Linked DNA regions of Homo sapiens: all the other regions are linked to region 1. The links are contacts of gene promoters, found by promoter capture Hi-C in blood cells and fetal thymus (Javierre and others, 2016). All regions are on one chromosome and are shown on one strand. Each heading gives the region's core, a stretch centred on a gene start or on the middle of the fragment in contact. The rest is flanking DNA. Distances are from core to core; before and after follow the strand shown.

What was found. Contacts are between HindIII fragments. The CHiCAGO score rates a contact against its expected background, and 5 or more counts as called.
Region 2: a contact is called between a fragment that was not itself captured here and the fragment with the promoter of FNBP4 in region 1, in 5 of 17 cell types (erythroblasts, M2 macrophages, fetal thymus and 2 more). The highest score is 12.6, in erythroblasts.
Region 3: a fragment that was not itself captured here is called in contact with the fragment with the promoter of FNBP4 in region 1 in 4 of 17 cell types (fetal thymus, monocytes, M2 macrophages and 1 more); the score reaches 8.2 in fetal thymus.
Region 4: a contact is called between a fragment that was not itself captured here and the fragment with the promoter of FNBP4 in region 1, in 1 of 17 cell types (monocytes). The highest score is 5.0, in monocytes.

The regions. Positions count from the first base shown.
Region 1 is chr11:47,763,008-47,770,392 of GRCh38, reverse strand. It overlaps FNBP4 (formin binding protein 4), which reads left to right and starts at 3,052. Exons shown (of 17, transcript NM_015308.5): 1 at 3,052-3,324; 2 at 5,031-5,123. The coding sequence starts at 3,105. RefSeq lists a silencer at 3,038-3,647 and enhancers at 2,837-3,761, 3,908-3,967, 3,762-4,687. The HindIII fragment of the contact is 14,946 bases long and covers 1-7,385 here.
Region 2 is chr11:46,780,543-46,787,927 of GRCh38, reverse strand. It overlaps CKAP5 (cytoskeleton associated protein 5), which reads left to right. Exons shown (of 44, transcript NM_001008938.4): 17 at 3,255-3,440; 18 at 4,560-4,654. Among named protein-coding and RNA genes, the nearest start is that of SNORD67, 22 kb to the right of the region's middle. The HindIII fragment of the contact is 231 bases long and covers 3,272-3,502 here.
Region 3 is chr11:46,798,548-46,805,932 of GRCh38, reverse strand. CKAP5 (cytoskeleton associated protein 5) reads left to right here. Exons shown (of 44, transcript NM_001008938.4): 9 at 4,629-4,733. Among named protein-coding and RNA genes, the nearest start is that of SNORD67, 40 kb to the right of the region's middle. The HindIII fragment of the contact is 2,298 bases long and covers 1,465-3,762 here.
Region 4 is chr11:46,819,265-46,826,649 of GRCh38, reverse strand. It overlaps CKAP5 (cytoskeleton associated protein 5), which reads left to right. Exons shown (of 44, transcript NM_001008938.4): 2 at 5,382-5,475. The coding sequence starts at 5,419. Among named protein-coding and RNA genes, the nearest start is that of CKAP5, 23 kb to the left of the region's middle. RefSeq lists an enhancer at 1-465. The HindIII fragment of the contact is 8,913 bases long and covers 1-7,385 here.

The DNA of each region.
Region 1 (7,385 bases), core at 1,803-4,302:
TCCTAGCACTCTTGGAAGCCAAGGCGGGTGGATCACCTGAGGTCAGGAGTTTGAGACCAGCCTGGCCAACATGGCGAAACCCCGTCTACTAAAAATGCAAAAAATTAGTAGGGGGTGGTGGCGGGTGCCTGTAATTCCAGCTACTCGGGAGGCTGAGGGAGGAGAATCGCTTGAACCCAGGAGGCGGAAGTTGCAGTGAGCTGAGATCATGCCATTGCACTCCAGCCTGGGTGACAAGAGCAAAACTCCCTCTAAAAAAAAAAAAAAAATTAGGCCAGGCACCGTGGCTCACGTCTGTAATCCCTACACTTTGGGAGGCTAAGGCAGGCAGATCACTTGAGGTCAGGAGTTCAAGACCAGCCTGGCCAACATGGTGAAACGTCTCTACTAAAAATACAAAAATTAGTGGGGGTGATGGCATGCGCCTGTAGTCCCAGCTACTCCAGAGGCTGAGATGGGAGAATTGCTTGAACCCACGAGGTGGAGGTTGCAGTGAGCCTGTAGCAGGACGAGCCGCAGACAAAACTCCTCAGACACCGAGTTAAAGAAGGAAGGGGTTTATTCAGCCAGAGGCATCGGCAAGACTCCTGTCTCAAGAGCCGAGCTGCCCGAGTGAGCAATTCCTGTCCCTTTTAAGGGCTCACAGCTCTAAGGTGGTGCGCATGAGAGGGTTCGTGATCGACTGAGCAAGCAGGAGGTAAGTGACTGGGGGCTGCATGCACCGGTAATTAGATCGGAACAAAACAGGATAGGGATTTTCACAGTGCTTTTCTATACGATGTCTTTAATCTATAGATAACATAACCGATTAGGTCAGGGGTCAATCTTTAACTACCAGGCCCAGGGTGTGGTGCCGGGCTGTCTGCCTGTGGATTTCATTTCTGCCTTTTAGTTTTTACTTTTTCTTTCTTTGGAGGCAGAAACTGGGCATAAGACAATATGAGGGGTGGTCTCCTCCCTTAAGCCAAAATCGCACCACTGCCTTCCAACCTGGGCGACTCTGTATACAAAAAAAAATCTGTAATCTCAGCACTTTGGGAGGCCAAGGCAGACAGATCATGAGGTCAGGAGATCTAGACCAGCCTGGCCAATATGGTGAAACCACATCTCTACTAAGATACAAAAAATTAGACAGGCAAGGTGCTGCGCGCCTGTAGTACCAGCTACTCAGGAGGCTGAGGCAGGGGAATCGCTTGAACCTGGAAGGCAGAGATTGCAGTGAGCCAAGATCGTGCCACCGCACTCCAGCCTGGCGACAGAGAGAAGCTCTCTCAAAAATAAATTAATTAAAATTAAAATTAAAAAATTAGGCCAGGCACGCTGGCTCACACCTGTAATCCCAGCACTTTGGGAGGCCGAGGCGGGTGGATCACCTGAGGTCAGGAGTTCAAGACCAGCCTGACCAACATGGCAAAACCCTGTCTCAACTAAAAATACAAAAATTAGCCAGGCGTGGTGGTGGGCGCCTATTATCTCAGCTACTGGGGAGGCTGAGGCAGGAGAGTTGCTTGGACCCGGAGGGCAGAGGCTGCAGTGAGTCGAGATTGCGCCATTGCACTCCAGCCTGGGCAACAGAGCGAGACACCGTCTCAAAAAAAAAATGGCTTTAGCCCAGGAGTTTGAGGATGCAGTGGGCTATAATCATGCCACGTTACTCCAACCTGGATGACAGAGCAAGACACGTTTAAAAATAAAATTAGAAATAATCATTTTAAAAGATCAAATGCAATTCTACGTGTAAAGTGCTTGGTGACTGACACATAGAGCTCAGTAAGTATTAGATATTTTTAGTGGGAACTGAGCTGCTGCGGATATAAAAATAAATACCACTCGCATTCCTTAGTTTAGAGGGGAGACGGATGTCAACAGGATGTCAAGTGCCAGGGAGAGGCTGGGCAGGAGAGGTCACGCCTGCACTGCGTCTGCATTGCGCCCTGATGAAACAATAAAAGACTTTCATCATGTGATGCAGTAATTATTCCAGTCAGTGCAAAGGAAAAGTGAGGGAGGTGATGCTCCAAGTGGCGGGCTCCAGAGGCAGGAGACGGGAGAGGGGGCAGTGTTAAAGCAAGGGTAAATTAAAGCATGTTGACGATAGTAGTACAAAACTGGTAAGGTTCCTGTATGCCATCCCAACAATTTTAGGCTTTTTCCTTGTAGGTAGTGGAGTATCTCGTGATTTTTCCCAGCTAATAAGCGAGAAAATATGAGACATCTATTTGTGTGCTGCAGGAAATTACAAAAGCGTAAAAGACCCACTGTCCCATTTAATGTTCAATGCTATACCCAAAGTAAGCCACAATAATCCGGGCGAAACGTGGGGAAGGGCTCAGAAAACAGCACACCTTTCTTTTTTTTCTTGAGACAGTCTCACTCTGTCACCCAGGGTGGGGTGCAGTGGCGCGATCTCGGCTCACTGTAACCTTTGCCGCCGGGTTCATGCGATTCGCCTGCCTCAGTCTCCCGACTAGCTAGGATTACAGGCGCCTGCCACCGCGCCCGACTAAATCTTTTGTATTTTTAGTAGAGACGGGGTTTCACCATCTTGGACAAGCTGGTCTTGAACTCCTGACCTCGTGATCCACCCGCCTCGGCCTCCCAAAGTGTTGAGATTACAGGCGTGAGTGAGCTGGGCCCAGCAGCACACCTTTCTAGAAGACAGACAACATGAAACTCTAGGCCGAGAATAGCCACAAGATGGAGGACAAGTAGGCAAAGAAAAGGCTTGGGGAAAGCGCATGGGTGGAACCCGACGGAAGTGGGGAAGTCGTTCTAATTCAGGCCCTACCGCACTATTGGCTGGACTCTCACCCTTTTTCCTTTTCCATTGGCCACCGGTCCCTTCTCTGGGTCAAAACAGCCAATCGCCTAGCGCAGTTGGTAATCCCGCCCTTTCTCCTGGTGAGGAGGAGCCAGAAGAGCCGAAGGGTCCGAGGCGCTTGCGCAAGCGCGTGCTCCGCTGGTTGAAAGCGGATCCGGGCTGGAGGCGGTGTCACGGTGTATGAATATTGATTACGCGTCGCAGCGCCCAGGGCCCAGCGCCCAGCCTCCAGTGCCCGCCCCTCTCGGCCGCCCGACGCTCTCTGCTCGCGCTTGGGCTCGCGATGGGGAAGAAGTCCCGGGCGGTACCCGGCCGTAGGCCCATCCTGCAACTCTCTCCGCCGGGTCCTCGGGGCAGCACGCCGGGCCGGGACCCGGAGCCGGAACCCGACACTGAGCCGGACTCAACCGCGGCGGTCCCCAGCCAGCCCGCCCCGTCGGCGGCGACGACCACCACCACCGCGGTGACTGCCGCCGCGGCCTCGGACGACTCGCCTTCAGAAGGCAAGGGTGCGCGGGGGGACCTGAACTCGAGCTCAGGGCTTGCGGCCTAGGCTCCTCACGGCGCCTGGCCAGACCCGGCGAGGGAGGCGGGCGAGGTCGGCTTCCGAGGCCTGCCTGCTGCGGGCCTGCAGGCGGGGCGGCCCTGGGCTCCGGGCCGCAGAAGGGCCAGGCCGAGTTCTGCGCCCTCGGCCCGGGCCAAGCCCGAGGCGCCATCTGTGGTGCAGGGCTTGCCCCGGGAACGTTTGAAATATGACCGAAGTTCGGGCATCCTGAGTCTCCCAAACGCCCCGGGTCGGTTTTGGGTAACGCAGAGGGTGGATGTGAGGATGAGTTTCCGCGTGCGCGGCCTGTGACTGTGGGCCAGGCCTTTCCACACGTCATCTGCCTCCTTTCGGTTTTGTCGAAACGGGGATAGAGACGTTTAGAAAAAGCTCTTAATATTCCAGCTAGTAAGCATCCCCACACTAGCAGAACTGCTGGAGAAATGGAGCTGGTAGGTTCCTAAGTATTTGTGTGGTTCTCACTGGAGTGGTGCTTAGATTAAAAGTGACTCCAGGACTAGGCGCCGGAGAAGCCGCGACCGTTTCACATGTTCAGAGATCACGCTGGTTCGTTAATTGGAAAAAATCCGCAATAGCAGTGTTTGGTGTGTCTTGTAAAGGTCCTATCATAGCCTGGAGAATACTTACTGTTTTTGTATGTATTTGTAAGTATTGCAGATGTAACTTTTTAAGAGTTTTGTTTTGTTTTTTTCGAGACAATGTCTCAATCTGTCGCCCAGGCTGGAGTGCAGTGGCGCGATCTTGGGCTCACTGCAACCTCCACCTCCCGGGTTCAAGCGATCCTCCCGCCTTAGCCTCCTGGGTAGCTGGGACTACAGGACCCTGCCACCATGCCCGGCTAATTTTTGTATTTTCAGTAGAGACGGAGTTCATGTTTCCCGGGCTGGTCTCGAACTCCAGGGCTCAAGCGATCATTACAGGCGAGAGCCATCGCGCCCGGCCATGCAGATGTATTAATAATTTTTATTTACCATGGTAAGAGTCTTCCCTTGATGTTGAAGTTTGTAAGCAGATGAAAGACTCCAGGGCACGGTGACTCATGCCTGTAATCCCAGCACTTTGGGAGGCCGAGGTAGGCGGATTACTCGAGGTCAGGAGTTTGACCAGCCTGGGCGACAAGAGCGAAACTCCGTCTCAAAAAAAAAAAAAAAAAAAGATTCCAGCTCTGTGTTTATTATCTCCCAATTATTTGGGTCAATGAAATGTCCTTTCTTTTTTTTGAGATGGAGTCTTCCTCTGTGGCCCAGGCTGCAGTAACCTCTGCCTCCTGGGTTCAAGCGATCCTTCTGCCTCAGCCTCCCGAGTAGTTGGGATTACAAGCGAGTGCCATCATGCCTAGCAATTTTTTTATTTTTTGTATTTTTAGTAGAGATGGAGTTTCACCATGGTGGCCAGGCTGGTCTTGAACCCCTGACCTCAAGTGGCCCCCCCCCCCCCCCGTCTTGGCCTCCCAAAGTGCTGGGATTACAGGTGCGAACCCATCCGAAATGCACTTTTTAAAAAATTGATGGAATCTAGAGCTGAAATGTTAAATCAAAGGTTGGTTTGTCACCTCTAGTGTTTTCTCTGGTCTGGAATCTGACTGCAGTTTTCTTTTCTTTTCTTTTCTTTTCTTTTCTTTTCTTTTCTTTTTTTTTAATCCAGATGAACAGGAAGCGGTGCAGGAGGTTCCTAGAGTTGTTCAGAATCCTCCAAAACCAGTCATGACCACTAGACCCACAGCTGTTAAAGCAACAGGTATGCTTTTGTTTTGTTTTTTACATTTTTTCTCCCACGTCTTTCATTAAAGTCAAGTTGGGTTTGTACATAGAATGTTTTGCTGAATGCTTTAGTGTTGCTAACATTATTTCTCCCAAAAATATGATTTAAGATTATTTTTGTTTGTGAGAGAATGTTGATGTATATACACTTTGACCAGTGCAAAATTTGTTGTTTTTCTTTACCCAAAACGTTTTTTACTGTTTTTTTTTCCTGATGCTATTTTATAACTAGTTTTCTGGTCCTCCCACTAGCTTGGTGTTCATTAGGCATGCCAACTCCTATTCCTTTTCTAACACTCTGGCTTGATTGGTTACCTAACAAACATTGGTGGACCTGGAAATTGATCTTATTAAATATTTTCAAGTACAAAGGAATGCCATAGTTGCAACAGTGGTTTTGTAGACAAACCTGGGTTCAATTCATCACTCTGGCATTCACACTTAGACTTTGGCGCAATTACTAATTGGGTTGAACCTCATTAATCTGTAAAATGGATCTTTTATCTCTGAGATATTTCCAGATGTGACATAGTAAGTGCCAGGAATGTTAATTTTCTCTACTCTGTGTATCTTGGAAGAGTAAAATGTGTTTTAATATTAAATATTCTATAATTGGTAGTAATTTCTTTTCAGTTCAGAATACTTTTTGTACTATTTGATGCTTAAAATGATAGATGCTTATTCCTCTCTCCTCACCATTTGCCACCTAAAAAAAAAAAAACAAACAAAACACCCCAGTGTGGGTTAGAAAGCTAAAATTTGAATGTGAGAGAAATTTCAGAACTACATTATACCATTTTGTATTTGCCAACTGCATATGTTATTTCATTTGAGACTTAACACTCATTTAAAATATGTAGAATTTAGCCAGGAGCAGTGGCTCACGCCTGTAATCCCAGCACTTTGGTAGTCTGAGGCAGGCGGATCACCTGAGTTCAGGAGTTCGAGACCAGCCTGGCCAACATGGTGAAACCCCATCTCTACTAAAAACATAAAAATTAGCTGGGCATGGTGGCGCACACCTATAATCGCAGCTACTCAGGAGGTGGAGGTTGCAGTGAACTGAGGTTTTGCCACTGCACTCCAGCCTGGGCGACCGTAAGAACCTGTCTCAAATAAATACATAAAATAAAATATAAATTTAAATGTTTCTAGGAGAAACTTCCTTGATTACTCCTGTGGTTTGAATGTCCTCTCGTGATGTCAACATCTTCCATTAGGCCCCTACCTCCCAACACTGTTGCACTGGGGATTTAATTTCCAAAACATCCTTTTTAGGGGCACATTCAAGCCATAAGAGGTATATACCTAAGAAATAATTTACTGCCTGATATAGGTAGCTGATATACAAATTGTGTAGCACCATCCCTCAAAGGTAAGTAAGAATGTTGAGGTTTGAGGGGTCAACACCTTTCTCAAAAAAAGACTGCTAAAAACTATGGCTCTGGGCCAGGCACAGTGGCTCACGCTTGTAATCCCAGCATTTTGGGAGGCCGAGGCAGGTGGATAATGACGTCAGGAGATCGAGACCATCCTGGCTAACACGGTGAAACCCCATCTCTATTAAAAATACAGAAAATTAGCTGGGCGTGGTGGCGGGCGCCTGTAGTCCCAGCTACTCGGGAGGCTGAGGCAGGAGAATGGCGTGAACCCGGGAGGCGGAGCTTGCAGTGAGCCGAGATCACGCCACTGCACTCCAGCCTGGGCGACAGAGCAAGACTCCGTCTCAAAACAAAACAAAACAAAACAAAACACTATGGCTCTGAAGAATGACCATGCTTTCTCAGGCTTTAAGTAGCAACAAATCTTTTTTTTTTTTTTTTTTTGAGTTCAAGTGCAGTGGTGTGATCTTGGCTCACTGCAACCTCTGCCTCCCGGGTTGAAGTGATTTCTCCTACCTCACCCTCCTGAGCAGCTGGGATTACCGGCTAATTTTTGTATTTTTAGTAGAGACGGGGTTTTGCCATGTTGGCCAGACTGGTCTTGAACTCCTGACTTCAAGTGATCCACCCGCCTTGGACTCCCAAAGTGCGGTGATCACAGGTCTGAGCCACCACGCCCAGCCTGCAACACATCTTCATCTTAACAGTAGTCAAGGACTTGTTCTTACAACTCTAGGGTTTAAGTGATCTTCCTGCCTTGGCCTCCCAAAGTGCTGGGATTACAGGCATGAGCCACTGTGCCCAGCCCAGGAGCTTAGTTTTTAACGCCCCTGAAAATGGGTGGCTCATGCCTGTAA
Region 2 (7,385 bases), core at 2,138-4,637, 980 kb after region 1:
ATAGGCTGAAGGAGGAGAAAGAGTAAGAAAAGGGGTTTGTCTTGCTGTTTCAGGAGTGGCAGAGGCAGAAGAAAATTCATGCATAAGTGGATCTTCGCAGTTCAAACCCATGTTGTTCAAGGGTCAACTGTATAACTTTATATAATTAGGAATTTATATGTGTATAAATATGTAAATATGTATACATCCATATATAATTTGTATAATTTAGATATATACATTTTTTTCTTCTCATTTTTAGGCCTAGAAGCCTCCTTATCCAATCTTTACATATTCAAGGGAGAAATAAACAGTGAGATAGCTTTTTTATTTGATAGGATAAAAAATAAGTGCAGTCCTTAAATTGCCAGTGAAAATTTACCACATAATCAATTGTATAGCCCCATTAACTGATAATAGAGCTGAAATTTAGCAGTACCAAGTTATTAGTCTAAGGGGTGGGTATAGAGGGAAGTATAGGAAAGTGCTGCAGGAAGGAAAATGAGAAAAAGTTTCCTTCTCTTTTTCTAGATGTACATACAATAGACCTCATGCTAAACAAACTTGAAATGTATCAGGTTTATTATTGGCATCCTGCTAGTCTCTTTTTGGTTTCTCTTCTGCTGCCACCTCTTGTTTTCTGTCTAGGATGTTTAGCTCCCTCATACACTGTGTGTCCCTTACATTGTGTTACATAGCACCTTATTCGTATAGGCCAGCTCCACAAAGGCTAAATATTCTAAAAGATTCTTGAGGTGCCCTCTTCCTCTCACACCACCTTCTTTTTTTTTGAGAAAGGGCTTCACTCAGTTGTCCAGGCTGGAGTGTGGTGGTGCAAACGTGGCTCACTGCAGTGTTGACACCTTAGGCTCCAGAGATCCTCCCACTTCAGCCTCCCAAGTAGTCGGGACCACAGGCGTGCATCACTACACCTTGCTAATTTTTTTCTCAAATTCATAGACAGTATGAAGTGTAATCTCATTGTGATTTTGATTTTCAGCCACCAAAGACTCTCTCCTTGGTTAACTTAATGACCAGCTAATGACTGGAGAGATTTTCTTAAATGCCTTGAACCAATGTGATCTGTCTCCCACCCTCTGCCAAGGGGGAAGGTGTGTATGTTTGTGTGTGTGTGCGCGCTGGGTCATGCCAGAGATACTCAGGCACTTTACAGCTTTACCCTGGAATTCACTTTTTAAGCAAGGTCTTGAAGGTCAGTCAGAGATTAGGGCCCTTTTCAGTCTTTCCTGGGCATACACATAACCTTGAATATTCGCATGACCTTCTAGATTCTCAAAGTCCTCTGTGGATATCTTATTCCCTAGGTCCTTTTATGTTTTTGACCAAGCTGGGTTCCCCCAGCTGGTATTATGGACTTACACAGTTCTGATGTTAGATGTTAAACAGTTGCCACTCATTGTTTTCGTTGTTTTCAACAAAATCCCTGGGGATAGGGCTTTTCCCACTGAGCTAGCCAGAGTCCAGTCAAATAACAGGACTTTCAAATGGAGCTTTTCTAGGAAGCTGCCAGACAAGACAGTACTTTGGGTCAAAACTTTTTGAGGAGGTCCAAACCTGAGCTGTCCCCCCACCTGCCAGTGGCTGCACAGCTCTAGGTTTTCATAGTTGCCATGGTTACAAGACTTCAGGTTTTGAAGGCTACTGTGGAGCTGGAAGAAAAGGGGAGCAAGGCAAGTTAAATCACCAGAAACCTCACTGTCCTTACTAAAATTCAGCATCCTTTCTTTAAATGGTTCTTGTATGTTACAAGCCTTATTTAATTTTCAGAGTTGTGAGATAAGTTGATTTGGATAGTTTTTGCCAGTGTTCTTTGTTGCTTTTGAGGAAGATCAGTTTTTCAGAGGTATTGACTCCACAATTGCAGAAGTCCCACCCAAGATAATTACATTTCTTTGGTTTGTTTTTTGGTTTGGGAATTTTTTTTTTAATTTTTTAAATTTTTATTTTTTCACATGCCTGCTATGTCAAATTTTGGGGGTTTGAGACAAAGTCTCACTCTCTTGCCCAGGCTAGATAGTGCAGTGGTGTCAACATGTCTCTCTGCAGCTTCAGCCTCCTGGGTTCAAGTGATCCTCCCACCTCAGCCTCCCAAGTAGCTGGGACTACAGGCGAGGGCCACCATACCCAACTAATTTTTGTACTTGTTGTAGAGCTGGGGTCCCTCCATATTGACCAGGCTGGTCTTGAACTCCTGGGCTCAAGCATTCCCCTCGACTCAACCTACCAAAGTGCTGGGATTACAGGCATGAGCCAGGCGATAATTGCATTTTAAAAGAGGATGTTTGTGTGGCTGGGCACAGTGGCTCACGCCTGTAATCCCAGCACTTGGAGAGGCTGAGGTGAGATCCCACTTGAGATCCACTTGAGGTCAGGAGATCGAGACCAGCCCGGCCAACATGGTGAAACCTCATCTCTACTAAAAATACAAAAATGAGCCAAGCGTGGTGGCGGGCGCCTGTAAGTAATCCCAGCTACTTGCGAGGCTGAGGCATGAGAATCGCTTGAACCCAGGAGGCAGAGGTTGCAGTAAGCTGATATCTCACCACTGCACTCCAGCCTGGGTGACAGAACAAGATTCTGTCAAATAAATACATAAATAAATGGGAGTATTTGTCACCTAAATTAATCTGTATAATAGGATTTCTAGTGGCGTAACAAAAAAAGTTAAAATATTCACACAGTACAAAGAAAAATATTTATGAGCAAAGGGGTCCTTAATCCCATAGGTCTGCCATCACAATAATATCTTTAAATTATTTTCCACAGATCTTTTTATTCTTATACTTAAAAGCCAACAAGTTCTCTAAAATCTCTGAAGTTCTGTGTTGCATGTGTGTATAAGAGGGTTGTAGTGTTTTTGTAGGCAGCCCTAGTAGTAATTCTCAGTTATGCAGTCAGTATAGTAATTTATTGTGTATTTTAGGGTGTGTATTCAGTACTAAATGCAAATAATCATAAGAGGAGGAAAATTTAAAAATCAGATTTTTCAATTAATAAACTTTCTGTGCAATATTACTTGTTAGTATTTTGGAACACTGAGTAGCTTTTTTTCCCTCTCTTCACTGTCAGTTAAGTAATTGGTAACAATTAAAGGATACAAATTATTTTGCATATTTGTTTAAAATCCTGATTTTACTTTAGTTGTGTTTCCAGCTGTCCCTAACCATGTCATATCTGTTACATGCTGTTAATACAAGTAAATAAATAAATGTCCTTGGCTTGCTCTTAGCTTTATGATACTGATCCTTGTTCAGGTGATGCAAATGAAGCTTCATATAGTTGCTTTGATTGCCCAGAAGGGAAATTTTTCCAAAACGTCAGCTCAGGTTGTATTAGATGGCCTTGTGGACAAGATTGGAGATGTGAAATGTGGGAACAATGCAAAAGAAGCTATGACAGCAATAGCCGAAGCCTGTATGTTACCATGGACTGCTGAACAGGTTAGTGACACAGAAGTCTTATTCCTCTAGTTTTCCCAATTTTTTCCCCCAAACTTTAAGCTTACTAATTAAACATTAGTTTTTATCTTCTCAAGTAAAATCTTTTTTGATACTGCATTTTTTTTGAGATGGAGTTTCACTCTGTCGCCCAGGCTGGAATGCAATGGTGCAATCTCGGCTCACTGCAACCCTCCCGGGTTCAAGTGATTCTCCTGCTTCAGCCTCCCGCATAGCTGGGATTACAGGCACCTGCCACCACGCCTGCCTAATTTTTGAATTTTAATAGAGACAGGATTTCGCCACGTTGGCCAGGCTTGTCTCGAACTCCTGACCTCAGGTGATCTGCCTGCCTCGGCCTCCCAAAGTGCTGGGATTACAGGTGTGAGCCACCATGCCCGGCCCTTTGATACTGCATTTTTATTTTTACCTTAAAAAATACTCTATTGCCTAGTGATGAAAATTCATCTTAGTCAAAAATATTCGGTCAGACACAGAGGCTCACACCTGCAATCCCAGCACTTTGGGAGGCCGAGGCAGGAGGATGACTTGAGGCCAGGAGTTTGAGAGCAGCCTGGCCAACATGGTGAAATCCCGTCTCTACCAAAAATACAAAAATTAGCCAGGCGTGGTGGTGCACACCTGTAATGCCAGCTACTAGGGAGGCTGAGGCAGGAGAATCACTTGAACCTGGGAGACAGACGTGGCAGTGAGCCGAGATCACGCCACTGTACTCCAGCCTGGGCAACAGAGTGAGACTGTCTCAAAACAAATAAACAAAAAATTCTATAGAAGGTGAAAGCCCACGAGCTTGAGGCTGCAATGATTGATGATTGTGCCACTGTACTCCTGGGTGACAGAGCAAGACCCTGTCTCTAAAAAAAAAAAAAAAACATTATAATGCAGAGTAATTGCTGCAAAGCTATAAATAGTCCAGAATGCCTTTAGTCCTACTATCATTTCACCTCATTTTCTTGTGTAGGTTCACTCTTGTTCCTAAGGCATTCTTGCAGTTGTTTTAGCGTCAGAAAACTAGTTTAATGCACATCTGCCTTAATGTCATGCTGTATTTCTATAAGAAATACGAGATAAAACACAGATCTGCTGTTTTTCCCTTTTCAGGTTGTGTCAATGGCTTTCTCACAAAAGAATCCCAAAAATCAGTCAGAAACTCTGAATTGGCTATCAAATGCCATAAAAGAATTTGGTTTTTCTGGGTAAGTCAGAACGAAATCAAGTGGAAAATAGTTAAATGTTCTGTCAGTCTCTAAGTCGTGCTGTTTATAATAATAGCTATTGCTGTTTATTTCTGAAGAGTGAGAGCTGGATTGTCTCATTTATATAAAAGAAAATTACCTTTGTTCTCAAAGGTCTATATTGGCTTGTGTTCCTGCTTTTTGATGTTCACTGAAAGAGTTCTCTACGTTATTTTTCCTTAAGCATTAATAGCTGTCCCACAGAAAATCCAGTTCCAAGAATTTCTAGTCAAATACATTAGGAAATTTCTGTATATAATTACATTTGTTTAAAGACCTATAGTATGCCTTGGCGAATTAACTGCTGTCAGAAATCCTGCAATAGAAGAGCTTGTTTAACTTTGTTTAACCCACTGTTCCCAAACTTATTTGCTTATAGAGCACGGTTGTTTATTTAAAACAAAACTTTATACAGTTTACTTTATCCCAGGTACTTTTAAAAAGCACTTTCTAAATCATAATTCATTTGATTTAATCATCATAACAACTAAGCGAGGTATTATATTATCCCTATCTTATAGATGAGGACTAAGGCACAGAAAGTTTAAGTAATTTGGGCCCATCATAGTTAGGAAAGTGGCAAAACCAAGATTTTAATCCAGGCATTCTGGTTTGGAGAAAGAATGATGTAGCTGCTATACTATGTTACCTTTCTCTGTGCCATGCTACATTTTGCAACATGCCTGTTAATATCTTGTAAAAGGGTATTTTGAGTTCTACTGATTGAAAAAACACTACTCTAGAAGTTACTCAAATAACAAAGAACGGTTTGTTATGTTATTATCTGTGGTGTTCGCCCATAGTTGAGGGTATTGTTATAATTCCTCTTAATTGTATAGTCTTTGATATAACACACATCTCTTGGCATGTCACTTATAAAAGCCATATATTTTCCTCTTTTTTGTTATGATCTTTCATTTATTCATTTATTAAACAATTACATATTGGCCACTACAATGTTCCAATTGTTTGTTCCAGTCCTTCAGAATACATCATGAACGAAATTAAATTTCTGTTTCATGGGAGTTACATTTGAGTAAAGAAAGATAGGTAATAAACAGTTAAAAATATATATATAGAGAGAGAGAGACAGAGACAGAGAGGCAGGCAGGCCGGGCGCGGTGGCTCATGCTTGTAATCCCAGAACTTTGGGAGGCTGAGGTGTGCAGATTACCTGAGGTCAGGAGTTCGAGACCAGCCTGACCAACATGGAGAAACCCTGCTTCTACTAAAAATACAAAATTAGCTGGGTGTGGTGGTGTACGCCTGTAATCCCAGCTACTCAGGAGGCTGAGGCAGGAGAATCACTTGCACCCAGGAGGCAGAGGTTGCAGTGAGCCAAGATCATGCCATTGCTCTCCAGCCTCGGCAACAAGAACAAAACTCCATCTCAAAAAATATATATCTATTTTTTTTTACATATATATGTTTATGTAAAGCAGGATGAAGGGTTAAATGGAATAATGTGGTATAGTTTAGATGGTGTTGTTTTCTATATAGTAGTTGAAGAGTTCTTCCTGAAAAAATGACATTTGAGTAGAGACCAGGACATGAGAGAGCAAGCTGTGATAATCAGAGAGGAGCATTCTAGACCAAGGGAAGAGCAAATGCCAAAAGCTCTGTGGTAGGAGTACATGTGATGTATTTAAAATAGCAAGGAGTGTCTTTTCTTCAGAATGTAGCTGTAGGACAATGAGTGAGTGGGTAGGAAGTGGTAGGAGATAAAGCTAGAGAAAGAATAGGGGCTAGGTCATGTGGGGCCTCAACATTTTGAATAAGTTGGGAAGGCATTAGGGGCTTTTGAGAAGAGTAACAGGTTCATATTCTGACTGTTGTCAGAGAAGACAGAGAGGAGATCAAAGACAGGAAGACGAATTAGTAGGCTATTGGAATAATCCTGTCGAGAAATTCTGGTGGCTTGGACATAGATTGTAGAAGTGGAAGTGTTATAACTGATAAGATATTTAAAAAGTAGAATAGAACAAGAGAGAGACAAGTCAGGGATAACTTCAAAAAGTCAAGGATAGCCTGAATAACTGGAAGAACAATGTGGCTCTTTACTGAGGTGTAGAAGACTCTGGGAGGAACAGGTTTTGGGACTGGAGTGAGGACAATCAGGAGTTTGGTTTCAGTATATTAGATGTAGGCTGTCTTCCAGGCATACAAATGGAAATATCACAAAGGCAGCTGGATGATGTGAATCTGGAGTTCAGGAGAGAGTTCAAGATTGGATTTAGGAGTTGTAATTAAGCATAATAGGATTGTCAGCCTATAGATAGTATTTAAAGCTCACTTTAAAGTTAGTGTAGGAGGCTGGGTGTGGTAGCTCATGCCTGTAATCCCAGCACTTTGGGAGGCTGAGGCAGGCAGATCACTTGAGGTAAGGAGTGCGAGACCAGCCTGGCCAACATGGTGAAACCCTGTCTCTACTAAAAACAAACAAACAAAAAAAATTAGCTGGGCATGGTGTTACACACCTGTAATCTCAGCTACTCAGGAGGCTGAGGCATGAGAATCGCTTGAACCAGAGAGGCAGAGGTTGCAGTGAGCTATCATGTACTGTACTGTAGCCTAGGTGACAGAGCAAGACTCTGTCTCAAATAAATAAAATAAAATAAAGTTAGTGTAGGAAGAGAAAAAGTGAGAACTTTGCCAAAGGGAGCCAGTCCTAGAGTCTGGCTTTATAAAACGT
Region 3 (7,385 bases), core at 1,364-3,863, 960 kb after region 1:
GGAGTTTCGTTATTGTTGCCCAGGCTGGAGTGCAGTGGCACGATCTCGGCTCACTGCAACCTCTGCCTCCCGTGTTCAAGTGATTCTTCTGCCTCAGCCTCCCAAATAGCTGGGATTTATAGGCACTTGCCATCACACCCAGCTAATTTTTGTGTTTTTAGTAGAGACGGGGTTTCACCATGTTGGCCAGGCTAGTCTCGAACTCCTGACCTCAGGTGATCTACCCTCCTTGGCCTCCCAAAGTGCTGGGATTACAGGCATGAGCCACGGTGCCCAGCTGACATTTTATTTTTTGTATTTGATTTTAGTTATATGTACACACAAACTTTGTATTATGTTGACTTCCTAGAAACATAACAAAAGTGGGGAAATGGTGAAATGGAAAAAAGTGGGGAAATGGTGAAATGGAAAAAAGAGGATGAGATTGAAGAATAGATTACAGACCAATCCTTTTTCCCTCCTTATAATTATCTCTTCTTTGTATTGTATAAATCAAGTAATCCCATTAATTTCTCAATTTTTTTCCTTTAATGAAAGTAGTAAAAAGGCATTAACTTTAAAATTTCTTATGATATTCCTGAAATTATTTTTAAACTGTTTTGAGTTGTCACCTGATTTAGCATATTCTGTGGGCTTTCCTGTTCTCACAGATTATAGTTCTTTTTTTTCTATTATTTTTAATTGATGTATTTATTTTTGAGACAGAGTTGCGCTTTGTCACCCAGGCTGGAGTGCAGTGGCACGATCTCAGCTCACTGCAACCTCCATCTCCCGAGTTCAAGCGATTCTCCTGCCTCAGCCGCCTGAGTAGCTGGGATTACAGGCGCGTGCCACCATGCCCGGCTAATTTTTTTTTTTTTTAATTTTTAGTAGAGACAGGGTTTCATCATGTTGGTCTTGAACTCCTGTCCTCAAGTGATTTGCCTGCCTCAGCCTCTGAAAGTGCTGGGATTACAGGCGTGAGCCACTGCGCCTGGCCTATAGTTCTTTTATTTATAAGATGCCTCCCTCCCAGCTCATCGCTTCTTTGATTTTGTCATGTGCCTATGCCTATGGACATTTGATTTTTTATATATATATAATTTATTTATCTTTACATTAAGATTTGGATTTTCGAAGTGCTTTCTTATATAATCTTTAGACTTCTATGTGGTATTAATCTTTTTTCACTTGTTCTTTCTACTTTTCCCCCCTTAATTATTGCTTGTTTTCATCATAGTTTTCTAAACACAGTAATTCATAATGGGTTTCATTAATTTGTTTCCTTTCCTCTGTCAACGGTGTGCTTTAGTTATTATTAACTAGTGGCTTTAATTTCTAGTTAAAGATAAATACCAATTGATAATTACTTTAAAGCACTTTGTTTTAATACTGTAGGCCTCAATTTATGAGAAAAGTGACAGCACTTAAAACTGTACAAGATTTCCTATTGTTTAAATTATATTGAGATTATGAGCTAAAGCTTCCATTCCCTGGTCTAGAACAGAAATTACTGAAAAGACAGAAGTCATTGTTTTTCTTACCTCTGAAATGGAGTCCCCCCTCATATGTTACTTTTCTTAAAAATAAACACTTCTCCATCTTCCCTACTCTCATTTCCCTGTTGAGAATAACTTGTTTATGGGAATAAACAATGAGTGTCAATGAGTGTGACAGGCAGGTATTATATTAGGGTATCTGGTCCATTGCTCACTTATAAGTTTATTTGAGCCTTTGCAATCTTGAAATTTAACAGATTCGCAGTATCTTCTTCAATACTATACAATAAGATCATGAGTGTCTAGAGTCTAGCTCCCACTGGTTACTGTTCCAACAATGGATAGGGAGAGGTATTCTCCTAAGAAAGGAATAGAATGATAGTTTTTTAACTGAGCCCATATGACAAAATCACCCTTTGAGCCATTTAAAAATACTGATGTCCAAATTTCATCCCAGATTCATTGAACTAGAATTTGTTGGAATGGGATCTTACATGTTTTTGATGTCCATTCCTAGAATATATATTTAGATGCTAAATATAAAGCCTAGCATCTAAATCATATCTGAGAGGTATTTTGATAAGGAAAAATAATCAGAACATTTATAAATACCAATAGTGATTTCAATACAGAAATGAATGGAAAATTTTTTTCTTCATAGACTTACAGTAATTAGAGATTTAACAAAATGTTTATTAGGACCCTGATCTCATCCTCTCGTAAGGAAAAGTGAACTTAACACAAGTTGAGAGGGAGAACATGCTTTACTTAATAAAAGGAGCAAAAACTTTGGAGTCAGAATTGACCTGGGTTTGAATCACACAGCATTACCATTTGCTAACTACCTGACTGTAAGCACATTAATCTTTATTTAATTTTTAGAATCTGGCTGGGTACAGTAGGTCACATCTGTAATCCCAACACTTTGGGAGGCCGAGGCGGGCTGATTGCTTGAGCCCAGTAGTTTAAGACCAGACTGGGCAACATGAAGAAACTCTGTTTCTACAAAAAATAGAAACATTAGCAGGTGTGGTAGCATGTGCCTTTAGTCCCAGCCAGTCGGGAGGCTGAGGTGGGAAGATCGCTTGAACCTGGGAGGGGGAGGTTGCGGTGAGCTGAGATCAAGCCAGACTCTGTCTCAAAAAAAAAATCTTTTTGAAGTCTGCACTTTTTTGTTGTTTTTTTGTTTCTGAGATAGTGTCTCGCTCTGTCACCCAAGCTGGAGTGCAGTGGTATGATCTTGGCTCACTGCAACCTCCGCCTCCCAGGTTCAAGAGATTCTCCTACCTCAGCCTCCTGAGTACCTGGGACTACAGGCGCATGCCACCATGCCTGGCTAATTTTTCTATTTTTGGTAGAGACAGGGTTTCGCTATGTTGCCCAGGTTGGTCTTGAACTCCTGGGCTCAAGCGATCCTCCCACCTCAACCTCTTAAGGTCCTGAGGTTACAAGCGTGAACCACCATGCCTGGCTGTGAATCTGCAAAGTTGAAATAATAATAGTCCTTACCTCATAGGGTTTGGGTGAAAATTAAACTTAAAAAGGATTATAAAGTGCCTACAAAATTTTGGTGCCTAATTTGTTTTTTCAATAAATGTTAGTTTCTTTATCCTTATTCCTCAGCACTTAAGGAGTGCATATAAGTGCCAAGTAGAACTTCTTTCATGTTGCATGTTAGGAGTTGTTTAATGCAGAGAATCTAGAATAAAGCATTCTGCTTATGGAACACCACATTGTAGGGACTAGATAAAATTCAAAGTAGACTGGAGGCATTACTCTTACTGGGAAAAGAGTGAAAAAAGAAGAGTTGGGGGCATTTAAAAATAAAGCAGCCGTGTGTGTGTGTGCATTTATAAATAAAGCAGCCGTGTGTGTGTGTGTGTGTGTGTGTGTGTGTCTGTCTGTCTGTCTGTCTGTCTGTCTTGCTCTGGTACCCAGGCTGGAGTGCAGTGGTGCGATCTGCACTCACTGCAACCTCTGCCTCCCAGATTCAAGTGATCCTTTTGCCTCAGCCTCCCAAGTAGCTGGGACTACAGGCACACGTCACACTGCCTGTATTATTATATAATAAAGCAGCTTTTTAACACCAACTGATTGGGCAGTGTACCACAGTAAAATCTTACCAGGAAGGAACCCAGTCGTAGTCAGTATCTTGTTAAATTGACACAGATGCAGCTACTACCCGTGAGTTTAGATAAGTGCTGGGCTTTGTGGGTTGTGGCATAGGAGGGCAGTAATATAAGCAGTGCTAGAGGAGAATCGACTGAGACTCTGAATTGAAGCTTAACCATTATTAGATGACTGAAGTGGCAGCCTCAAGGCCAGAAGCTCCCTCAGAAGAATGGTTCTCAGAAGAATGCAGTAGCATTCACAATTTAGAGTCCCCATGGACTTCCTGAAGGTACCTGCAGCCGTTTGTACTGGTGCTTCTTGGTTATGAATATTAGAGCTGTTGCCCTGTGATGTCTTTCAGAGATACATTGCCTTTTCATTTTCCTTGTCCCAAAGCAAAGTCAGCAGACCTCTCGTCTCTCTGCCATTATCAGGGTCATTTCCTGCACAGTTGAACAGTGCTGACAGCCCAGACTGCCACTACTGGATAGTGAGCAATTTGATGTTGTGGTTTTATCTATGTTTTATTAGTAGAACTTTAAGATAGAAGACTAAACATAATGAAGGGAAGCTCCCAAATTCGATACAATGAAAGAAGAATTTCTCCTCTGTTGTAGTAAATAAAATTGGTCATATATTAGCATAAGAGCTTTCAGAGTTCTTTTTTTTTTTTGAGATGGAGTCTTGCTGCGTTGCCCAGGCTGGAGTGCAATGGTGCAATCTCGGCTCACTGCAGCCTCCGCCTCCCAGGTTCAAGTGATTCTCCTGCCTCAGCCTTCCAAATAGCTGGGATTACAGGTGCCTGCCACCATGCCTGCTTAATTTTTGTATTTTTAGTAGAGACAGGGTCTCACCATGTTGGTCAGGCTGATCTCAAACTCCTGACCTCAGGTGGTCCACCCACCTTGGCCTCCCAAAGTGCTGGGATTACAGGTGTGAGCCGCTGCACCCGGCCTCAGAGTTCTTTTGAGAATAAAATTTCAATACCCTTCTACATGGCTGTGACTATTTTGTTTTCCTTTTTACCCCCCTTTGTAGGTTGTTGGAAAGGACACCAATGTCATGTTGGTGGCTTTGGCAGCAAAATGTCTTACTGGCCTGGCTGTTGGGCTAAGGAAGAAATTTGGACAATATGCAGGACATGTAAGTAACACTCCTTTTTAGATACAGATCAACAAAATTTATCAAAAATGGTAGGCCTAGTTTGCTGTTTGCTTTAAAACAACTCCTTGGCATAGATGTGTATATACTGTACAAAGTAAATTTCTCTCTGTTTTGTTAATATTCAGCATAGATATATCTTAGAAATTTCAGTAGATGTCAGTTGTAACAAAATTTATAGGCCTTATGTAGAAAGTCAGGCACTAGGCCTAAAGTACTTAGTTGAGTTTATTTATTTGCTTATTACTTATTTACTTACTAGTATCTTGCTTTGTTCTTACAACATTATACACATCATAACAAGATGAAACAAAACTTGTAACGACCAGGACCAGAATGAAAATGAGAGTCGGAAAGGCAATGTAAAACTATAAATGTAAAACTGTGAGGTTAATATATAAAATGTGTTTTACATTGTTTTCCTATTTTAATATATAATTTACTTACATATTTGAGACATTTTATATAGGTTACAATGTTATATATTTTATATAGGTTATCTCCGTTTTACTTATTCAAAGAAAATCTGACTGGAGACATTTGTTGACTTACTATTTGTATAAGTTTGTTTCCAATCAAATTTGGTAATAATTTTAATTAAGATGTTTTCTTTAACTGTGGCATCTGTCCTTTGGCCTCTAAATCCGGTCTGCATTACTAAGAATGGCTCAGCATCCTAAAAATTGACCTTATTGATCTTTAGAGTTTAGCTTGCTAGCCCCTTCATCATTTGATTCCCTAGACTGACTTAGGAGTTTCCTAATAGTCCCTAGTCATGTGTCCATTTTATATTGTGAAGCTAATACCTAGCCTCACATGAGCTATGGTATTTGGAGCTTGCTTACTCATAGCATTAAAAATAATCTCAGAGAACTTAACTGAAGAAAAAGAAGACACTACCAAATAAAAATAAATCATGACTGGCTTATTACTAGGGAAATAAAAATAAGGGTCTGTAAAACCCTTAGACATATACATCATAAATTGAAATAAAATTAAAATCTATTTTTATAGCAATCAATATTATATAATATCGATGTGTATATGCCATTTTGATCAATTTTATATTACTTAGGATATTTTACACTTTTATATTGGGAATAATTTTTCAAGATAAAAAACAATTTTTTCCTACACCACTTAAATATCAGTTCAGAGAATAATTTTAGTTTTTTTTTTTTGAGACAGGGTCTCACTTTGTCACCCAGGCTGGAGTGCAGTGGCACCATCTCAGTTCACTGCAGCCTTAACCTCCTAGGCGCAGGTGATCCTCCCACCTCAGTCTCCTGAGTAGCTGGGACTTCAGGCACACCCCACACCATGCTTGAGTACTTTTTGTATTTTTGGTAGAGATGGGGTTTTGCCACCTTGCCCAGGCTGGTCTCGAAATCCTGAGCTCAAGCTATCTGCCTGCCTCAGCCTCCCAAAGTGCTGGGATTACAGGCTTGAGCCACCACACCCGGCCTAAAATTCATTTTAATTTACCAAATTATGGTTGGATAATTAACTGGCTTTCCAGTTTGAGTTCTGATTCTGGCTTTGTTTCAGTTTGTTGTCCTGGTTAAAGAATGTCTCTATTGCTCTGTAGTTTGGGGTCTCCCCCACCTTAATACTGTAATATATGCGGTGTTTAGTATCAAGCATGTTACTGACTTGGCTTTATTTTCTTTAAATGTTTACAAACTTTTTGGCAATATTTATAAAAGTGAATGTTAGCTTTATAGACATTAAAATATCTTGATTTTCAAGTTTATAACTAGTATTAAAAAGTCTTGTATTTTTCCATGGGAACCATAGTCCTTGAACTATACCAAGTAGTCTATAACCACTTCTGTGAAATCTTGAAAACAATTATTTCTTGTTTTTGGATGCCATTGAGCTTTGCTGTGTCCTTTGGACCTTAGAAATTTTCTTCCCCAGCCTGGGCAACATGGAGAAACCCCCGTCTCGACAAAAAATAAAATAAAAAATTATATTTACAGGGAAATGGTCAAGAAATTAAGAATTAAAAAAAAAAATAGCAGGTGTGGTGACATATACCTGAGGCCTACCTACTCGGGAGGCTGAGATGAGAGGATTACTTGAGCCCAGGAGGCCGAGGCTTCAGTGAGCCATGTTCATCCCACTGCACTCCCACGTGGGTGACAGAGCAGAGGCGGCAAATAGGTTGAGAAGCACTGCCATAGTGGGAGAGAATGAGAATTCTTCATTGTTCCGGCATAAGATACGATGTCCTTCATGAAAGGAAATGACTTTTTATTCCACTTAAATGTTTGCTTTATTGGTTTGTTTTGGTGGAGACAAGGTGGTTTTTTAGAAAGTAAGTTTTATTGAGATAAAACTTGCATACTATAAAATTTACCCTCTTAAAGTGATTTTAGAATATTCACAATGTTACATAACCATCAGCACTATCTAATTCCAGAACATCTTCATCACCCCAAAAAGAAACCCCTTGCCCATTAACAGTCTCTCCCCATGCTGCTCCCTGCCCTTGACTCTAGCAACCACTAATCTACTTTTTTGTCTCTGGATTTAACATTTCATGTAAATGGAGTCATACAATACATGGTCTTTGTGACTGCTTTTTTTTTTTTTTTGGAAGACAGGGTCTTGCTGTGTTGCCCAGGCTAC
Region 4 (7,385 bases), core at 2,900-5,399, 940 kb after region 1:
GTAAACAATGCCGGCTCCAGTGAGCTAAAGCCAGGGTATCTGCTCTACTTCTGGGTGGTGACAGCAGCCGTAGGGTGCTTGTTTGGGCATGCAGTGGGTGAGCAGTGCCCACGACCTGGCTTTGCCCCCACCTGGTTCTTACTTGGGGTGAGGAGAGGGTTGCTTTTACCAGAGTATAACCCATTTGAGCTGAATGGGTGGAGCTGAATCTCTCTCTCTGGGCCTTGGATCCTTACCCTGGTATTTGAAGACCTTGGTAGCTTTGGGATGAGTAAGCATTAGGTTTTCAGCTACCTTGGTACAGTCGAGCAGTAACTCCAAGTTGTCCTAATTCACAGCCAGGTTTAGCTGTCTCTCCAGAGGCCTGTGTTGGTGGTATCCCGTACCCCTTTTGGATATGTTGACAGTGAACATCTCTTAGGAAGAGTCCAGTTAACCTTTCCTCCTGATATAAAGAGCACAATGTGAAAGAGACAGCTCTTTACCCCTCTCCATCTCTGAAGGAATTTGTGGGACGCCACTGTCCCAAGATTAGGAAAGCAAACACACCAAAGTTTGAGATAATCTGCTAGAAAACTGTTCAGATTTCTGGCCGCCTGGTAATGCAGAATACTCCGGCAAGAGGATAACACTTGTCCTTGTTAATGGGAAATACCTGGAGACAGTGAGTTTTTTTTTTAATTTGAGGGAAAGTGTTGTCATTTTTGCCACCTGCTACTCAGAGATGGGATTTTGTCAGATTTTGGTTAAATAATAAAAATCTTAAGTTTTCTATGACAGTTACATAGTTGTTGTGTTTCTTTAATCCAGTTGTCCTTCCTAGACATGGTTTGAGTAGATTTCTGGGCATGTGTATGCATTGCTTTTTTAAAAAAATAATTTCTTTTTTTTTTTTTATGAGCCTATCATCACACTCAGTGGTCATTCAAATGGGTTGCTTTTTGATGGAGCAGAAGTTTTTCTCAAACTTCTGTTAAAATCATTCTGTGCTTCTGCAATAGCATCTCCTTAGCCAGAGGTGAGAGTCCAGGAATGGTAATCAAATTCAGATCTCTTGTATTGTGATAGTGAAGAGCTTTTGTAGGTCAAGAGCTTGGGAATTTGCCATAAAAAAGTCATACTGCCAGTGGTTTTTCTCTAAGTAGAAGAGAAAATAATCTGTACAGTAGCTCTGTAATTACTCTTATAGACTATCAAAATACAGGAATTTAAACTAAAAAGACACCACACTTGGGCCCATGGGTTGTAGGGAAGAGAGACAGACTGAGAAGTAGGAGACATAGGTTCTAGGCCCAGCTCTAGTATTACTCATGACTTAATCTCTCTGTCCCTTTTAAATGGTTGGTTAATGAGAAAATGCACAGATTTTGGGGTCTCTTTTATGATGGGATATAGTGCATATTTAATAGGAAATTTGTTATTTATTTGAACACTAAACTGAAAAATCAGACAATTTGGAATTTATTCTAAGTTCTGCCTTCATGTATAACCTTGAAAACATTTCTTAACCTCTAGTCTAAAAATAAACAATTATGCCTAAACCTTTTCAGCAATAGCATGGACTATATGGTATTTGAGCTCTTAGGAAGACATTTTTAGATCAGTGGTATATGATTATAATATATCTGTAAAACATACTTACTTTAGCTGACCTACTTGTCTTTGCCTCAGTTTTAGACTGGGATAAAATCTGAGAGCTCTGAATAATTGAAATTTCTGAATATGTGTCTTTACTAGGGACTAGATCAAATAAACCACAGCAAGCATTATGTATAGTTCAAATTAATCTTCTTAATGCTTCTCTTTGTTGGCAATTTTATTTGCTCTTTAGGCATCAAACTCTACTGTGTAGCAAAAACTTGGTTCTTATATCTGTTTATAAAATCCAGATCAGTCTGCTCATCCCTATATGATACTTTTAACTTTTTGAGAAACTTCCAAATGGTTTTACACAGCAGCTAGACCATTTTGCATTCACAGCAGCTGGACCATTTGGCATTCAACTTAAAAAATACAGAGGTATAATAATTTTTATTGTATTTTACAGACATACTAGTATTCAGTTGGTGGGGGTGGTAGGGGGAAGACTGGTCCTGAGTTTGAAAAGCACAGTTTGATGAACATGTGAACTGTTTCCAGCTTTTGACTACTATGAACAACATTGCTATGACTATCCCTATATAGGTCTTCTGGTGTAATTTGCATCAGTTTCTAGGCTATACACCTAGGAATGGAGTTGCTGGGTGGTAGGGCATGTGTATCTGATAATGCCATACTGTTTTCCAGACTGTTAAACTATTCTGTCTCCCATCATTGGTGTATTTGAGTTCCTGCAGATTCTCCTGACTCCTTTAAATTACACTGCTGCTGTTTCATGGCAATCCTAGGGATTTTGAAGAAAAATCTTAATGAAAGTTCCACATATCCTAATAAACTTTTACAATTCCATCTTTCTCTGGGACATTTTCTTCTTTGCCATGGGAGGGAACAAAATGTAAAGGAAGAAGCATAGACTATGAATCTTAGTTTAATTTCATTGCTTACCAGTTTTGTTGTTTTGGCAGGTTACTTAATATTTGTGAAGCTAGTGTGTAAAATGAGAATATCTTTCCTTCACATAGTTGATGTCAGTATAAAGTGAATTAGCGTGTTTAAAAAGTACTTTGCACCATGCCTGATTCAGAATAGATATTACCAGAGTATATATTCAATAAACAAATATTTATTGAAAACATATTTTATGTCAGGCCAGAACTAGGGATGGAGAATTACGGAGGACCGCTTCTATGTTATTAATAATATTGAAAAATCGGCCAGCCTGGGCAACATAGTAAGACCCCATCTCTACAAAAAACTAAAAAATTAGTTGGGCATGGTGACATGTGCCTGTAGTCCCAGCTCCTTGGGAGGCTAAGGCAGAAGAATCACTTGAACCCGGGAGGCGGAGGTTGGGAGGATCACTTGAGCCCAGGACATCAAGGTTGCAATGAGCTGTGATCACACCACTGCACTCCAGCCTGGGTGACAGAGTGAGACCCTGTCTCAAAAATGAAAAAGAAAAATTGGAAACAATTTAAATGTCCAATGGTAGGGTTGGTAATTATGGTACATTTGTAAAATGGAGTGCTATGTAGACTTTAAACATCATATTCTCAAATCTGGGAAAATGTTTGTGATCATATAACAAAAATGTTGTAAGGGGATTATGCCTGTCTTTTTCATATGATTTATATTACTACATGTGTATTGAAAAAAAACTGGATACGTACTTTAGTGTTCATCATGGTTATTAGGTGGTGGTAAAATTGTATTTTAATACTTAGATTTTTTTCTGTAGTTACTAAATTTTCTGCAGTTTACACACATTACTTTTATAAGAAAAAGGTGTTGTCTAGATAGATAGCATAGGGGTGGGTGCGGTGGCTCACGATCAGTGGGATCACTTGAGCCCAGGAGTTCGAGACCAGTCTGGGCAATATAACGAGACCTTGTCTCTACAAAAAATTTCAAAATTAGCCGAGCATGGTGGTGCACACCTGCAGTCCCACCAAATCCTAGCTACTCAGGAGGCAGAGGTGGAAGGATCGCTTGAGCCCAGGAGGCAGAGGTTGCAGCGAGCCAAGATCGTGTTCATTCCACTCCAGCCTGGACGACAGAGCAAGACGCTGTCTCAAAAAAAAGAAGATAGGTAGCATAAAGTTATTAAAAGGATGTTGACTTTAAACCTCACTTAAAAACATGGTTTACATAAAGAATATGTATAAAGGTTCATTCAGGGATTTAATTTTGTACTTGTTTATATAAACATTGACTAGTCATGTTTGCTAGAATTAGGGAGCTTGGCAGTATCAACATTTTTACATATTGATTCTTTCCTTTTCTTTCTTTTTTTTTTTTTTTTTTTTTTTGGGACGGAGTCTGTTGCCCAGGCTGGAGTGCAGTGCGATCTCGGCTCACTGCAAGCTCCGCCTCTCGGGTTCACGCCATTCTCCTATCTCAGCCTCTAGAGTGGCTGGGACTGCAGGCGCCAGCCACCAAGCCCGGCTAATTTTTTGTGTTTTTAATAGAGATGGGATTTCACCGTGTTAGCCAGGATGGTCTCGATCCTGACCTCGTGATCCGCCCGGCTCGGCCTCCCAGACTGCTGGGATTACGGGCGTCAGCCACCACACCCGACCCCCATATTGATTATTTTCTATAAGTAATTCTAGGTGAAAGTATGACTTTTTCCAAAACTTTTTTCTTGGCCTTTTAAAAGGCCATTTAGCTCAGCAATTCAGTTTTATTCCAGCTTCGTTTTATATCTAAGAAGTTCTTATTTGGGAAAATAAAAGCATCATTTTTTAGAAAACAAATTTTTGGTTTTTTTGAGACAGGGTCTTGCTCTGTTGCCCATGCTGGAGTGTAGTGGCATGATCACAGCTCACTGCAACTTCTGTCTCTTGGGCTCAAGTAGTCCTCCCACCTCAGCTTCCCGAGTAGCTGGGACTACAGGCACACACACCACTACGCCTGGCTAATTTTTGTGTTTTTAGTATAGATGGGGTTCCACCATGTTGCCCAGACTGCAATATATTTATATTTATATTTTTTGAGTGACTTTATTTTTTTGAGATGGAGTCTTACTCTGTCGCCCAGGCTGGAATGCAGTGGGACAATCTTGGCTCACTGCAACCTCCTCCTCCCAGGTTCAAGCGATTCTCCTGTCTCAGACTTCCGAGTAGATGGGACTACAGGCCTGCACCACCACACCCAGCTAATTTTTGTATTTTCAATTGAGACGGGATTTCACCATGTTGACCAGACTGGTCTTGAACTCCTGATCTCAGGTGATCTGCCCACCTCAGCCTCCCAAAGTGCTGAGATTACAGGCATGAGCCACCACTGTGTCCTGTCTTTTGAGTGACTTTAAAAAAAAAATTCTATTGGCCGGGCGCGGTGGCTCACGCCTGTAATCCCAGCACTTTGGGAGGCCGAGGCGGGTGGATCACGAGGTCAGGATCGAGACTGTCCTGGCTAACATGGTGAAGCCCTGTCTCTACTAAAAATACAAAAAAATTAGCCGGGCGTGGTGGCGGGTGCCTGTAGTCCCGGCTACTCGGGAGGCTGAGGCAGGAGAATGGCGTCAGCCCAGGAGGTGTAGCTTGCAGTAAGCGGAGATCGGGCCACTGCACTCCAGCCTGGGTGACAGAGCGAGACTCCGTCTCAAAAAAAAAAAAAAAAAAAAAGTCCTGTTAATTGAATTAAGTGGGGATCTGACGAAAGAACGGGATTTTTACTCTTGTTGTTGCATGAATGATAAAATAATAATCTCAGAAAAGTTATTTTTGTCTTAAGAGACTGCCTGGTTGCTAAGCAGGTTTCTACCTTTATCTGACCAGGAAATACTCTTAATTCTAAGGAAAACCTGGAAGCACAATGGGAGATGACAGTGAGTGGTTGAAACTGCCAGTTGATCAGAAATGTGAACACAAGGTAAGATTCTTCTGGAATTCGATTTTCAGTGTCGTTGGCTTGTTTTGTGAGCAGTTATACTATCATCTTACTTAGAAGTGTGTGAAAACATTGGCAGTTTCAAAAATACTGATGCCTTGTTAGATATGTTATTTTTTCTCATTGAAAATAGGTTTCTGTAGCTCAACTAAAAATTTTTTTGTCTCTGGAAAGAATTCAAAGAAAAGATATTAGTGAAGTGAAAAGTAAGTGGTATCTATGAAAAGTAACTGGCTAGTTTTTTCATCTCCTTGTATATACAGTACAATATACTTCTGGTACCTAAGTACTTACTAATATTTTATTATATAGAGACTCTTCTTTTGAGATGTGTTCTGAATTTGGCCTTAGAAATCCAGCATTTTTTAGGTTCTCTGATTTATATGATCGGCATTCCAATATTTACCCTCAGAATCTACCAATCTTTATTTTCTAGTTTATGCTAGTAAGATACAATTTATTACATCATGTCATTATTTGGTGGGCATCCTTTCAGATTATCTTATTTTTTCCCCAACTATACCTCTAGTTTCTTTCATTTTTAATCATTTTAAACAAACATCTACCATCTGGTAGATTTTAGAATTTCATTTCTTCTTGTAAATTTATTCTACTCCAAGTCCTCAGGTTTACCACTTTATGTTCTTGACAGTTCTTTTAAAGTTTGTTTTGAATCTGAGTATTCAAGATTTATGGTTGTTGATTACTAAAAATACTGAATAAAATATACTAACTTACACAGTTGTATACATACAGTTCTACCTATGTAGAGTAGAAATTTGGAGCCATGGTCCCTATATCCTCCACAGAACCACTCCTTCATCCTATATAATAAATTAGCCAAGGCCGAATACTGTATCAAAAATCAACATGTAGCTCTTCAAATAAGGCCAGATTAAAAGTGAGCTAGTTGGTTTTTATTCTAATTCGCATAGAAATTGTTGGTTATGTAGTACATTAAATTGCAACAAAAATTGGGGGAGAATTTTGGAACTTATTTAGAATCGTTAACTATAATGCTTTTTTTGGTAGATATTGTATATTCTCACTGAAAGGGGCAGACAATATAGATAAATCTTAGACTTTCCGATTTTTGATTGGTTAATATGTGCTAAGAGTTTTTCAATCTCGTGTGATTTGGTACTTTATTTTTCCCATTTTTTGAGCATTTATTGTGTGTTTTTGAAACTTAAAGCATAGAGATGTTAAATCTGTTTAGGGAACACTCATTCTACTTTATAGAATGAGATGTTGCCCAATTTTAAAAAATAAAAAAATAAATCTGGTTTAAATTGGTTAGTAAATGTTCAACTATGATGTTAATTTATGTTATACTTCACTCTAATTTTGCAGAATAGGTAATGCCTTCTTCCTAATGAATGCATCTTATAGTGGGTTAGGCAGCATTCCTTCCTTAGAAGGAAGAGTTTTTTCTGTGAGCATAGCACCTGCCCCAAATCACATTTTCAATTACATTAATTGAATCAATTCAATTACATTTTCAATTACATTTTTACTTACATTAAACAAATAACATGTAAATTATTTCTGTTTTTCAATCATATGTTGATCCTTCTGTCTCTTTGATCTAATAGTGTTGAGGACAAACATCTAATTCTTTACTAATGCTTAACACAGTAAATGCAAATTCGATCATCCCACAAACTAACTTCTCATTTAACTGCCCCCAAATCATTTCATTGCTTTCCCATTGCTCTTAGAATAATGAGTGGAATCTTTTCTTTGGCCTTCATAGTCCTGCATGATCTGGCCTTTTCCAATCCTCTCCAGCTTACTTTGTACCATACTCCCCTTCTCTTTCTTTATAGGAGTGGGAAATACCATATTCCCTGCTGCCATAGGGCCTTGGAGTATACTGTTCCTTCTGGAAT